Linked DNA regions of Homo sapiens: region 2 is linked to region 1. The links are contacts of gene promoters, found by promoter capture Hi-C in human tissues and cell types (Jung and others, 2019). All regions are on one chromosome and are shown on one strand. Each heading gives the region's core, a stretch centred on a gene start or on the middle of the fragment in contact. The rest is flanking DNA. Distances are from core to core; before and after follow the strand shown. Region 1 holds the start of PLEKHB2 (pleckstrin homology domain containing B2). Region 2 overlaps FAM168B (family with sequence similarity 168 member B).

Region 1 (7,068 bases), core at 1,519-4,018:
AAATAAATAGCTGGGTGTGGGGGCGCACACCTGTATTCCCAGCTACTCAGGAGGCTGAGGCAGAATAATTGCTTGAACCCAGGAGGCGGAGGTTGCAGTGAGCCTAGATGGTGCCACTGTCCACCAGCCTGGGTGACAGTGAGACTCCATCTCAAAAAAAAAATTATTATTATTTTGAGGCAGGGTCTCATTCTTTTGCTCAACCTGGAGTGCAGTGACACAATCATGGCTCACTGCACCCTTGACCTCCCGGATTCTAGTGAAGCTTCCCTCTCAGCCTCTCAAGTAGCTGGGACTACAGATGCATGCCACCATGCCAGTCTAATTTTTTTATTTTTATTTTTTTGTAGAGAAAGTGTCCCACTGTGTTGCCCAAGCTGGTCTTGAACTCCTGGGCTCAAGTAATTCTCCTGTCTTGGCCTCCCAAAGTGCTGGGATTATAGACGTGAGCCATCACACCCAGCCTTAAATATTACTTTTTCCTGTTGTTGAAGTGATACATATTCATGAAAGAAAACTTGGAAAATGCAGAAAAGTAGAAAAAAGAAATGTCATCCACAGTCCCATCACTCAGAGAGAATGTGTTAGTGTATTTTTGGATACTCCAAACTCAGACCCTGAAAGGTCCCTAAGACTGACCCTGAAGGTGGTCAGGGCTAGTATAGCCTTAATGAGGGCTGGTCAAGAAGCTTGTTGATGTCAGGCAATTTACCCGAGCTCATCCAGAAGCAGCGGAACCAGGAAGAACCCCATGTCACACAAATCTCTGAACTCTTGTGTTGACTAAGCTATAATATCTTGCAAAAGATGGGATTGCAGGCATCATAGGACTCCCTACCCTGCATTTTTTAAATTTTCCCCAGAGAGGAGCTGGGTTAAGACAGGGGCCCTGATTGGCAGAGTTTGGGGTTTTGAAGACCAATAATAATAGGGCTCTTCCAATATTTTTTTTAAGAGTTTTTCCCTTTTAAATTTAGATATAATTTATACACAGAAAAATGTACAAATCTTTTTTTTTTTTTTTTTTTTTTTTAGATGGAGTCTCTCTGTCGCCTAGGCTGGAGTGCAGTGGCGTGATCTCGGCTCAGTGCAACGTCTGCCTCCCGGGTTCACACCATTTTCCTGCCTCAGCCTCCCAAGTAGCTGGGACTACCGGCGCCCGCCACCACGCCTGGCTAATTTTTGTATTTTTAGTCTCTGAGTATCTGGGATTACAAGCGCACCACCAGGCCTGACTAATTTTTTTTTGTATTTTTAGTATGGACGGTGTTTCACCACGTTGGTCAGGCTGGTCTCAAACTCCTGACCTCGTGATCTGCCTGCCTCGGCCTCCCAAAGTGCTGGGATTACAGGCGTGAGCCACTGTGCCCGGCCAAAAATGTACAAATGTTAAGTATAGTGTTCAGCTTGATAAAGTTTTACTTACACACACGTACCCACCACTCAGATCAATGTATAGAACATTTTCAGCACCCTAGGAGTGGGGTTGCCAGGAGGCTCTCTCAAGCCTCTTTCCAGGCAGTACCCCTACACCACCCCCCAACCCCTGCTAGGCTGGAACGCAGTGGCTTGATTGCAGGTCAAACTTCTGGGCTCAAGCAATCCTCCTGCCTCTGGCTCGCAAAGCTCTGGGATTACTGGCATGAACCATCTCACCTGGCTAACATTTATTTTCCCTCTATTGTCTTCAGAAAACCCCCAACTTTTCATCTGGAATAATTTTAGACTACAAAAAAGTTATAAAGCTAGTATACCCTTCACACAATTTCTCCTAATGTTAACATCTTACATAACCATTATACATTTCTTATAACTAAAAACTACTATTACCTAAACTTAAATTTTATTTTAAGTTTATAGCCTAGCTACATCACCATGTTGCATATGACAGTGTCTCAGTTTTTTTCTTGCTTTTGATTACCTTGATAGTTTGAGGAGTACTGGTGAGGTGTTTTGAGGAATATCCCACAAACGAGATTTGTCTGATGTTTATCTTTCAGTTAGACTGAGGTCACGGTTTTTTTTTTAATCACATGTCAAGGGCAAGTGCAGTGACTAATCACTTTGATTTTCACGTGGAGTGGCTCTACAGCCCTCTTTCCACACTGTACTCTTGGAAAGGTCGTCCCCAGGCATAGGCCACACTCAGGGTGGGTGTGGACGGATTACCACACCCCTCTGGATGAGGTATTATTAGAATTCCTCTGCAAGGAAGATTATCCCTTCTCCCTCATTTATTTAATCACGTATTTATAGCAGCACGGGCTCTGGGCTGTTTTATACTTTAGGTTATAACTTAATGCAATGTACTTTATATTGCTGCTCAAATTGTCCCAGGCGCGGCCCCCGGAAGCTCTCTGGGTAGATCCCTGCGCCCTTGGACGCCCGGTCCTTCAGTTTTTTGAGCACCTCAAGCTTCTGGCCTACAAAACGCTCCCGGCTCAGCTGGAGCTTTCTGCGCCCGGGTCCTAGAGTCGCCCATTTCTCTAAGGCGCCTTGGCCCTATTTTTAGAGAGCGGTATTTAGAAACCAAGATTAGGGTGCTAACAATTTTTTTTTAAATTTTTATATTTTTAAGACAGGATCTCACTTTGTAACACTTCCTTTTAGTGGAAGCGCCGACCTCCTGGGAGACCCACGCCCCCTGCCGCCTTCCGTCCCGTTTCTCAGAAAACCACCCAGACACCCCGCCCCACCGGCCGGGGCCCGCCGCGCATGCGCGCCGAGGCGTGACGTCAGAACGGCGGCCAGGACGCCGGACGTGCGGCAGTTGCAGGCGAGCAGGCGAGGAATCGCCGTGGCGTCTTGGTGTTCTCCACGCTGGTTCGCAGGTGAGTGTCCCTGTTTAGTCCGGACGACCCTAGCTCCTTTCCCCTCTGGCCCGCGCCTCTCCAGATTCTCCTCTAGAGCTGCCCAGCCTCGCGCCCCTCTGAGGGGACCCCGCACCGCGCCACCTCCGCGGTGTCCCCACTCCCTAATTTTCCCTGAGGCTCCTGGCCACGGGTCCGCCCACCTCCCTGGACCACCCTGACCTTCCCCAGGTCCGCCCTCTCAGTCTCCCCTAGAGCAGCCCATTCGAGAGCCCTCCCAGTGGGCCCCCCCGGCCTCTCAGACCCCTTCCCATCGCTTCCCCGGCGTCCGCCTCCGGTCCTTTCCCCGAGCCCCTCCTCTCCGGCCCCGCGGACCCTCCTCCTTTCCCGACTGCAGCCTCCGCCTTGCATCCTTTCTGGCCGCTCGGGAGTGTCCCACATGTCTGACTGCCGGGACCTGCTGCGGCCCGCCGCCTGGGGTCTCCCGGCGTCCGATCTCTACCCCTGCTGCTCCCTCTGCTCCAGGGAACTTGCCTTCTCAGTTCTCCTGCCCAGAGGTCTCCCCTCCTTAAGTCCCGGGGGGCGTTGAGGCTTTACCCTCGCGGTGCGGTCCGCCCCCGCTGCATTTCACCTGCTCTTGGCCTTGCAATGTCTTTAGTCATAAGTGCTTGGTGTACCTTATCTTACATATCTCTCTTCATGTTTGATTCTGTTACTCAACTAGATTGAAAACTCCGGAGGTCAGGGATTTGCATAGGGATCCCCGCCCCGCCACCCCGCTTAAATCTCAAATGTAGACCGGTTCAGGGTGGGTGGAGGAAAGGAATGAGGTGGAGTGGTCACTGTAAAAAATTAAAGGAACATGGTTAATTCAAAATAATACTGACTCATGGTCTCAGCCTTTAAATTTTTAGTGCTTAGGAAAGGGTGGAACCACCACCGAGGGAGGAGGGCTGACAGCTGAGGGGAGGAATATTCCAAGGTCTTCTGTGGCCTTTGGTATGAACCAGTACCAATTCAGGAAGTGACTTGTCCGAAGTCACATGAGGAATTAGGACCCGAGCTGGCACTGGTAACTGCCTGTTTAGTGTGGCCCTCAGTATTTGTTGACTAAACTAATGACCAAAACATGTATGCACAGACACAGCTGTGCGTCTGTGCCCATGCAGTGGGTGTGTCTGCCTAAGGACCTGTGGGGGTGTGGGAATACTGCTGTGACGGTTCAATTGTGGTGCTCAGGAGTGTTCCCTAGGTTCAGAAAGTTCCTAACCCTGGGCTGGTTGGCTGGATATTGATAGGACTGGAGCTTGTCTGGGCTTCCTTTGTGCCTGGTGTTTACTCTCTGTGGTGGTGATCTCTTTACTCGACTCTTCCCTATTCGTACTGATCTCCCTGAGGACAGGAATCAAACTGTGTTGCAGGGTTTCCCTAATAAACAGCATAGTGTTTGGCACTTTGTAGGTGGTCAGTAAATGCTTATTGAAGAAGGCTGCAGAAAAGAACTCAGAACCTGACAGCGGTTCTTTGCTAGCATTATATTTTAAAGGCGGTGGTACATTCTGTAAGTAAATTTCCTGCTATTCTCAAGGACTGAGTTGATTAAATGTGTACAGCAGTGGTATAGAGAGGACAGATACTCTTGTGGTGTTACTCCTTGGGAAGGTGGAGGTTTCTCTCAGCTCTTTCTGAAAGCTTTGCTTATGCTTTTCAGCTTGCATTAATATTTTTGTTTCTCCTTTCCTCTGCCTGCCTTCTTACTGTTTGTCTAAAGAAATTAAAGAATTACCTTATTAATAACAGTAACTACCAAAAACTGCAAAACACACTGTTAAAAATGCTCCCAAAGTGGGGGCTAATTGACCCAGTTGTTTTGTTAGTTATATATTTGCTTCCACAGTGGATCATGGAAACGGAAAGTTGGACTTCCTTGCCTCTTTGCTTTCTTTGCCTGTCTGCCCTTTGATGGTGCTTGTATTAGGCTTGTTGTTAAGAAGTGGTTCCCAACTGGAAATGGCCAATGCCACGTGGGAACTGACCTCTACATGTTGATGGGTCACCCAACCTTCTTTCCCTTCTGTTTCAGAATGTACCTGTGACATCTCTTTGACTCTCCACTGTTGCCCTTGAAGAACAGAGATGAGTTTTCTTCCTTTTTCATAAGGAAGCCACTTTTATAGCGAAAGAGAGCTGGAGAACTGGGATATCATGAGGAGTTGTAGACAGTTAAACCTGAATTCTAGCTTTTGGAACAAAATAGTAATGTAATTGTAGCAGTTCTCACTTTTTTATTTTTTATTTTTTTGAGACGGAGTTTCACTCCTGTTGCTTAGGCTGGAGTGCGATGGCGCAGTCTCGGCTCACTGCAACCTCCGCTTCCCGGGTTCAAGGGAGTCCCCTGCCTCTGCCCCCCAAATAGCTGGGATTACAGGCGTGCGCCACCATGCTCGGCTAATTTTTTGTATTTTTAATAGAGATGGGGTTTCACTATGTTGGTCAGGCTGGTCTCGAACTCCTGACCTCAGGTGATCCGCCTGCCTTGGCCTCCCAAAGTGTTGGGATTATAGGCGTGAGCCAACGCGCCTGGCCAATTCTCACTTTTGGACCATCTACTACAGGGCTGTTTGGACATACCTCCTTTAATTGTCACAGTAACCCCATGACGTAATTGGTTGTGCCTGGTCATACAGGTAAGAAAACTGAGGCTTAGAGAGGTTTAGAATTTTGCTGAAGGTCATACTAGTGAGTAGAAGGCAAAGTAGGCTTCAGGCTTAGAACTGTCAGATTCCAAAGGCAGTATTTTTTGTCCATCTGTTGTCTGTTTCGATTCAATGCTTTCAAAGAGATACAAATTCAAATTTAAAATAATTTAAATTGTTGAATATGGCTTACATTTTAAAGCTTTGCATAGGTTTTATTGGCATAAAAATAATGTTCTTTTGCAGCTAGTTTGCTGGTGTTTTATTCTCTAGAGACCAACAGCTAGGGCTTAGTGTTTATCTGATGAGTTTTAGTTTATGCATTCAGTTTTGCTCCAGGATATAAATAGTGAAATGTTGAATTAAGTTATGGAGTGGTGTGAAATTCAGCATGCTAAGGCAATCAAACAGAAGTCTTCTGAGCCATTTGAGAAGCAGCTTGATGTCCTTGTTCTTAGAACAGGGCTGTCCAATCTTTAGACTTTCTTGGGCCACATTGGAAGAAGGCCATACATAAAATACACTAACCCTAATGATAGCTGATGCACTAAAAAATAAAATTGCAAAAAAATCTCATAACGTTTTAAGAAAGTTTACAAATTTGTGTTGGGCTGCATTCAAAGCTGACCTGGGCTGGGGCCATGAGTTGGACAAGCTTGTTCTAGAATATTTTCGGCAAATTTTGGTAAGGGGGAAAATAAGTAATAGTAATAATAGTAGTAAATAGTAATAATTGCTGTCAAAGCAGCTACCATTTATCGAGTTCTAGTAACTGTGAGGCACCATGCCAACTACTTACATATTATTTCACCCAATTTTCCGAACATCCTGTCAAGTAGGTGGTGGGAATTTTCGTTTTATAGATCAGGCTTGGAAACGTGACTTGTCCGATTGAGTCAGGATCTGAACATAGGTCTTTTAACTCTAAAGCTTATACCCAAACACTGGGTTCTGTGAAATTTCAAAAGCATATGATAGGCTGACTGCAGTGGCTCATACCTGTAATCCCAGAACTTTGGGAGGCTGAGATGGAAGAATCCCTTGAGCCCAGGAGTTCGAGACCAGCTTGGGCAACATAGTGAAACCTCGTCTCTACAAAAACAAAACAAAATGTGATCAAAATCATACTTCATGATTTTTGGTTTCTAAAGATACTCTCTAAATTTCTCTCCCCAATTTAAAAACGAAAGCAGAGCACTGTTGGAAGGTTCAAATAGGTAGATTAATTTAGGTTGGTTTTTTTGTTTTGGTATAGTTGAAGATAATTCAGGTTATTGTTTACATGTTTACATTTATCAAAATAATACATGTACATAGATTGAAAGACCAAATAGGCTGAGCGTGGTGGCTCAAGCTTTTGGAGGCCAGCACTTTTGGAGGCTGAGGCGGGTGGATCCCCTGAGGTCAGGAGTTTGAGACCAGCCTGACCAACGTGGTAAAATCCCGTCTGTACTAAAAGTACAAAAATCAGCTGTGCGTGGTGGTGGGCGCCTGTAATCCCAGCTACTTGGGAGGCTGAGGCAGGAGAATCGCTTGAACCTGGAAGGCGATGGGTGCAGTGA
Region 2 (7,068 bases), core at 2,934-5,433, 40 kb before region 1:
CCTCCAAAATTTAAAAAAAAAAAAAAAGTAAAAATAAGCAAGGTGAAAAGTATACAGTACTTTCAGATGCTGACACACAACTGAGAGCGTGTACGCTAGCCAGAAAATCTCCATGGAAACAACAGTCATGCATGAGGTAAAAGAACAAGCAAGGAAGTTAGCTGAAAGGGCCCACGGATCACCACACCCAAACGCACCCCTAGAAGATGAATTATAGTCAGGCGCAGTGGCTCATGCCTGTAATCCCAGCACTTTGGGAGGCTGAGGCAGGCGGATCACCTGAGGTCAGGAATTTGAAACCAGCCTGGCCAACACGGTGAAACCCCATCGCTACTAAAAATACAAAAGTTAGCCAGGCTTGGTGGCCACACGACTGTAGTCCCAGCCACTCGGGAAGCTGAGGTGGGAGAATCAGCTGAACCTGGGAGGTGGAGGTTGCAGTGAGCAGAGACTGCGGCAATGCACTCCAGCCTGGGCGACAGAGGGAGACCCTGTCTCGAAAAAAAAAAAAAAGAAGAAGAAGATGAATACAAAATTTTGCCAAGCCTTTAAAAAGGCCATCAGCAGGAAGGATTCTATAGCAGTCTGAAAGATGCTGATCTGGAAGATGGCCTGGCAGTTAGGCATAGGCTGGAAAAAAAGTTAAACTATGCCACTGGACATGTTCAATATATACAGCCAATGTGCAACAAGAAGTTACAGTTCTATCTGATAAACTGATTCACTAAAGAAAGAATGAGAAGAAAAAGGAAAAGCTGTTAAAAGAAGTCAAAACAAGCAATAAACCCACGACCCACATCCATCAACATTGCTAATAAGAAAGTCCTTGACCTTTTTATCACTCTTCAAACTGCAGAAAGAGCTCAGAGTGAAGAGAAGATGCAAGCTGCCAACCCAAACAAACCTCTAATACAGAGTATAAAACCAAAGTGAGGAAAATCTGAGAACACCTCTCTCCAAAGAGGGAGTCTCTCAGCCACAAGTGCTCATCTGGCCCACCACAGCCACTGAAAAAAGGTGAAGTCCTTTTTCATGCCTCATTTCCTTAGGATACACAGTCGAGGGGCCCACCTACGATGTCTTCCTTTTCTTCTACTGGAAGCCTCCCACTGCAGAAATCCCTGCAGCTAGCCCTAGGTTTCCCAATCCAATCACCCAAGGTGTCTTTTTTGTTTTTGTTTTGAGACGGAGTCTCGCTCTGTTGCCCAGGTTGGAGTGCAGCGGTGCTATCTCAGCTCACTGCAACCTCTGCCTCCCGGGTTCAAGCGATTCTTCTACCTCAGCCTCCCGAGTAGCTGGGATTACAAGCGTGCACCACCATGCTTAGCTAATTTTTGTATTTTTAGTAGAGACTGGATTCACCTATGTTGGCCAGGCTGGTCTCGAAGTCCTGATCTCAAGTGATCCACCCACCTCGGCCTCCCAAAGTGCTGGGATTACAGGTATGAGCCGCCGCGTCCGGCCTACCCAAGGTGTCTTACAACACCTACTTTACAGGTAGGCGTTGCTGAAGCAAAAGGAGCGACTGCTCCAAGGAAGCATGCATATGCAACTCAGCATGCAATGCATGGGATGCTAAACTTGTGCATTTCACACATGCACATTTTACTTAAAAACAAAACCAAAAAGGAACTAAACAAATAATGATGTGCATGCTCAAGTTATTGAGGTAAGATATACTGAGGACCACAACTTACTCTGAAATGAAACCCATCAAAAAATAAGATGGACTGAAGGATGGATGGAGTAATGTGTATGTGATACAAGTAAAATGTTACTTGTAAAAGTTGACGTTAAAAAGTTTAATCGTAGAATCTTAGCAGTCCATATATAGGTGATCACTGTGAAGTTTCTGCAACTTTTCTGTGACATCTGAAATTTTTTAAATTTAAAAAATTTAATCGTAGAATCTTAGCAGTCCATATATAGGTGATCACTGTGAAATTTCTGCAACTTTTCTGTGACATCTGAAATTTTTTACAATAAAATGTTGAAAAAAGTCACCAACGATTTCTAATCACAACAATGGTTTTTAATATATATTATCTTACTGTTTATTCTTATGACTGTGAGGCTACGTTCTAATGCTCACCAGAAAACTTTTGGTCTTTGGTTTAGGCATGAATATTACACCATTTTCTAGCCAGCACTTAAGACAAGTGCATTTCAAGTAAGGCAAACAGGTCTCCCTATCAATTTAAGACTTAGTGTGGGGCCAAGAGCTATGGTGCACACCTGTAATCCCAACACTTTAGAAGGCCAAGATGGGAGGATAACTTGATTCCAAGAGTTCTGAGACTGGCCTGAGCAGCATAGCGAGACCTTGTCTCTACAAAATAAAAATTAGCAAGGCATGGTGGGGTGTACCTGTAGTCTCAGCGATTTAGGAGGCCAAGGCAGGAGGATCGCTCATTGAGCACAGCAATTCTGGGTTACAGTGAGCTATGATTGTGCAACCACACTCCAGCCTGGGCGACTGAGCAAGACCCTGTCTCTAAAAACTAATAATAATAATTTTAAAAATTTAAAACACTAAGTAAAAAAATTTTTTTAATTAAAAATAGACAGTGTGTGCTTGCCACCTTTTTTTTTTCATTCAGCACTAAGTCCACCATATCCCTCCATAGTAACTCAACAGGAACTTCACAAACTTTAAATAAATACACACAATTACCTCATCGTACCCAAAAATATACACTGCCTCCCTGAAATATCAAATTCATTCAGTGCTAGGTCTTTCCAAAACAACAGCTTTTCAGATTCTCCCTCCCCAGGAAGCCCATCTGTACTGATGCAACCCAGGCGGCGCAGACAACAGACGCTCCCTCCTTCCACTTCACCAGACCTGTGAGTGACCCTGGCTGTGCCCTCAGGGAAGAGGACATGCACAGGGTCACTGATTTTAGAATGCCAACTGTTCGGGAACCAGAAACTTTTTATTTAAATAGGTCATTTTTTTTTTCAAAAGTACTGTGTACCACGCGGATTTTTTTATAATAATTTTTTGAGTAAAAAAAGACATTTATTTAGAAAATTTAAAAAATTCAGAAGCCTGAAGTACATGTGAGGAGAGAAGATCTGTGCCAAAACACAGCATCATGAAATTTCTGAACACTGGAGGCAAAAATCCTACAGAATAGCAAAGAAAAACCAAGGTTACACTCAATCAGGCACCAACAAGGTACCCCAATTCTCAGCAACAGTGGTGGAAGCTGGAAAGCCATTGAGCAAACACCCGAATATTCTGGGGGGAAATAACTGCTCTCTAGAATTCTGTATCCAGACAACCATCAACGAAGTGTGCGTGCAGAATAAAATGTTTTCAGACATGGAAAATCTCAAAATTGTGACTTTTCCATACTCTCCCAGGTGGTTACTGAAGAAAATCCCCCGCCAAAACCAGAGTAAACGAGGAAAAAAGAAAAGAACTCAGGCAGAAGGGAAAGGCAAAAGCAAGCCCTGGGATGATGAGAACAGTGACCCCCCCAGGGTCTGGCCCAGAGGACAACCAGTCCAGATAAGAGAGAGGAAGGGAGGGCTTCAGAGATCACCAGGAAAACAACACACAAGTATCTGAAATTGCTAAGAAGAGATCTCAACACATCGGGGGTAGCTGGAGGTTTAATTAATGCTATGGTCACAGAAACCTAATCAAAGACACCAGATAAGTACAGTATTAATTCCAGGGACACCGCAGTAGATGCAGAAGAAACTGCAACAGGGCACAGGACAACAGGATCGCCGCACAGAAGACACAGCCGTGAACAGTGCTGATGCGGCCACAATAATAGAACTGTGAAGGAAGGTCGGGGCAGCAAAGTGAGAAGTCAGTAAAGCAGTGCCACTTTACAAAAACAAACAAAAAAAGAAGCAGGGAACAGCAGAAACATGTCATGTGGAAGCACGGAAGGCACGAGCAAAAGCAGCTTTAAAGAGTTAAAGAGCTGGAGTTTGCCCATGGGGAGTGAAATGTGGGGGCTCCCACAAGGGAGCAGGCAACTGCTATTGTTCATTTTTAAAAGCCTTGTGGAGCACTGCAATCTTTTACCTCTATGAATGTAAACCTTTAAGAGGGAAAGAAACAGGCTCCACAAGACCTCACAGACTATTAATATTCCAAAGGCTATTCTCTCCCCCTCGGCTGCCATGCATGAAGTTTAATTTTTAAACAAACCAAGGGTTTCATTTTATGGCTATAATTCTGAGTTCAAAAAGAAAAGAAACGCCGGGCATGGGGGCTCATGTCTGTAATCCCAGCACTTTGGGAGGCTTAGGTGGGCGGGATCGCCTGAGGTCAGGAGTTCAAGACCAGCCTGACACACATGGAGAAACCCCGTCTCTACTAACAATACAAAAATTAGCCGGCGTGGTGGAGAGCGCCTGTAATTCCAGCTTCTCAGGAGGCTGAGGCAGGAGAATCGCTTGAACCCAGGTGGCAAGGCTTGCAGTGAGCTGAGATCGCACTACTGCACTCCAGCCTGGGCAACAGAGCGAGACTCCAGCTCAAAAAAAAAAGAAAAAAAGAAAAAAAAAAAAAAGAAAAGAAAGCTCTACTGTAAACCATTTTCACTTATCATTAAATATTCTCCATAAACAAGTACCAAAACCAGATAAACACTGTGTGATAAACAGTTTAATTAAACCATCACTTCGTAATTAAATGCATGTGTACCTGTACATAAATGTTTGCACATCCAATTATTGCCCTTAGAATACATTCCTAGAAGTGGGTCGAAAGGGTTCATTTTTAAGCTTCTAACATACACTACCAAACTGCCCTCCAAAGAAGTTTCTCCAATTTACCCTCCACCCAGCCATACACACCAATGACCATGGAAGCTATTTCATCACTCCATCACTCTTTGCAACATTTGTATCTTTTTTTTTTTTTTTTTGAGACTGAGTGGAGTCTCGCTCTGTCGCCCAGGCTGGAGTGCAGTGGTGCGATCTCGATCTCGACTCACTCACTGCAAGCTCCGCCTCCCAGGTTCATGCCATTCTTCTGCCTCAACCTCCCGAGTAGCTGGGACTACAGGCGCCCACCACCACACCCGGCTAATTTTCTGTATTTTTAGTAGAGACGGGGTTTCACCGTGTTAGCCAGGATGGTCTCGATCTCCTGACCTCGTGATCCGTCCGCCTCGGCCTCCCAAAGTGCTGGGATTACAGGCATGAGCCATTGCACCCGGCCTAAATTTGTACCTTTTAAAAATAAGTGCTAATGTAATAAATATCTAAACAACCTTGTGTGTAGAGCTTATTACAAAGAACAGACTGTTTTGACAATTTCAGATCATCATTACCAATATTAGTTACAGGTACTTGTGACTCTAAGTAGGACCAGAACAGAGGCCTCAATGTGCTGGCCCAGCTGACATCTATGCCTGATCGTAGGCTTGGGGCTGAAATCCTCCCATAAGAAATCAAGGAGTTATTTATTCATTATTCCAATGCCAAGGGTGAAGTTAAACAACTTTCCCAGGGAGTGACACAGTCAGGAGTATAATCCACATCTAGCTAACTCCACAATTCAAAGCTCTGATTCCAAAAATGGACAGCCCAGTTGTATTAGTTCATTCTCATACTACTAATAAAGAAATACCCGAGACTGGGTAATTTATAAAGGAAAGAGGTTTAATGGACTCACAGTTACACATGGCTGGGGAGGCCTCACAATCATGGTGGAAGGCAAAGGAAGAGCAAACGTGTGCAGGGGAACTGCCCTTTATAAAACCATCAGATCTCGTGAGACTTATTCACTATCATGGGAACAGCACAGGAAAAATCCACCCCCATGATTCAATTACCTCCCACCAGGTCCCTCCAGTGACATGTGGGGATTACAGGAGCTACAATTCAAGATGAGATTTGGGTGGGGACACAGCCAAACCATATCACCACCACTCTTGATGTGTGCATACACAGCCTTGTTCAGGAGGACAAAATGAATGACACCTTCTCCATTCCCAGATTCTGAAAAACAGAATTCTTCAGCAAAAGACATCTCATCACAAGGGTCTCGGAATCCTCTTATATCACAATTGGAAGAGGGCTAAGAAATACGTGGCATTTGGATTACAAAAGTGCTCTGGAAGTCAGACTCCGCATATACAGCGTTGAAACCACAAGTCAGCATTGGGTGCAAACTGAACGGCAAGATCAAGAAAGCAGCAGGGGCTGGGTGTAGTGGCTCACTCCTGTAATCCCAACACTTTGAGAGGTCAAGATGAGAGGACTGCTTGTGCTCAGGAATTTGAAACCAGCTTGGGCAATACAGTGAGACCCCATCTCTACAAAAATTTTTAAAAAATAATCTAGGTGTGGTGACTTGTGCCTAAGGTTCCAGGTACTTGGGAAGCTGAGGCAGGATTGCTTGGCAGTGAGCCAAGTTCATGCCACTGCACTCCAGCCTAGGCAACAAAGTGAGATCCTATCACACTCACACACACACACACACATACACACCCACCTCCACACACCTTCAGAGAAAGACAGAGAAAAAGCAGCAGGAAGGGAGAAAAACTTCTCTTTTAAATTTTTTATACTGATAATTTTGGCTTGCTCATCAGAAAAAGGGAAAGGCTCACTGAAAAGGGAGTTATAAAATTCAAAACATGAAGCTGGGTGTGGTGGTTTATGCCTGTAATCCCAACGCTTTGGGATGCTGCGTTGGGAAAATCCCTTGAACTCAGCAGAAAAAGGCTGTAACTGTACCACTGGACTTTACCCTGGGTGAAACCACAAGACCCCCATCTCTTAAAAACAAACACCCAAGACATGAAAACAGAGAGGATACCAGAAAAAGATGGGCACACAGCTGTGGTCCAGACTCAGGTTAGATGGACAACAGCACTTGTGGGACATCAGAAAGACTTTTTCTTTTTTCTTTTTTTGAGACAGAGTCTCGCTCTGTCACACAGGCTGCAGTGCAGTGGTGCGATTTTGGCTCACTGCAACCTCTGCCTCCCAGGTTCAAGTGATTCTCCTGCCTCAGCCTCCTGAACAGCTGGGACTACAAGTGTGTGCCACCACACTCGGCTCATTTTTGTATTTTTAGTAGAGATGGGG

Evidence for each region. Contacts are between HindIII fragments. The study calls those that stand out against the background at their distance.
Region 2: a contact is called between a fragment that was not itself captured here and the fragment with the promoter of PLEKHB2 in region 1, in 1 of the 25 tissues and cell types used here (hippocampus).

Annotation. Positions count from the first base shown.
Region 1 is chr2:131,102,568-131,109,635 of GRCh38, forward strand. It overlaps PLEKHB2 (pleckstrin homology domain containing B2), which reads left to right and starts at 2,769. Exons shown (of 8, transcript NM_001100623.2): 1 at 2,769-2,831. RefSeq lists an enhancer at 2,493-2,622. The HindIII fragment of the contact is 2,981 bases long and covers 478-3,458 here.
Region 2 is chr2:131,061,284-131,068,351 of GRCh38, forward strand. The region is part of intron 3 of FAM168B (family with sequence similarity 168 member B); the gene reads right to left. Among named protein-coding and RNA genes, the nearest start is that of FAM168B, 29 kb to the right of the region's middle. The HindIII fragment of the contact is 6,063 bases long and covers 1,153-7,068 here.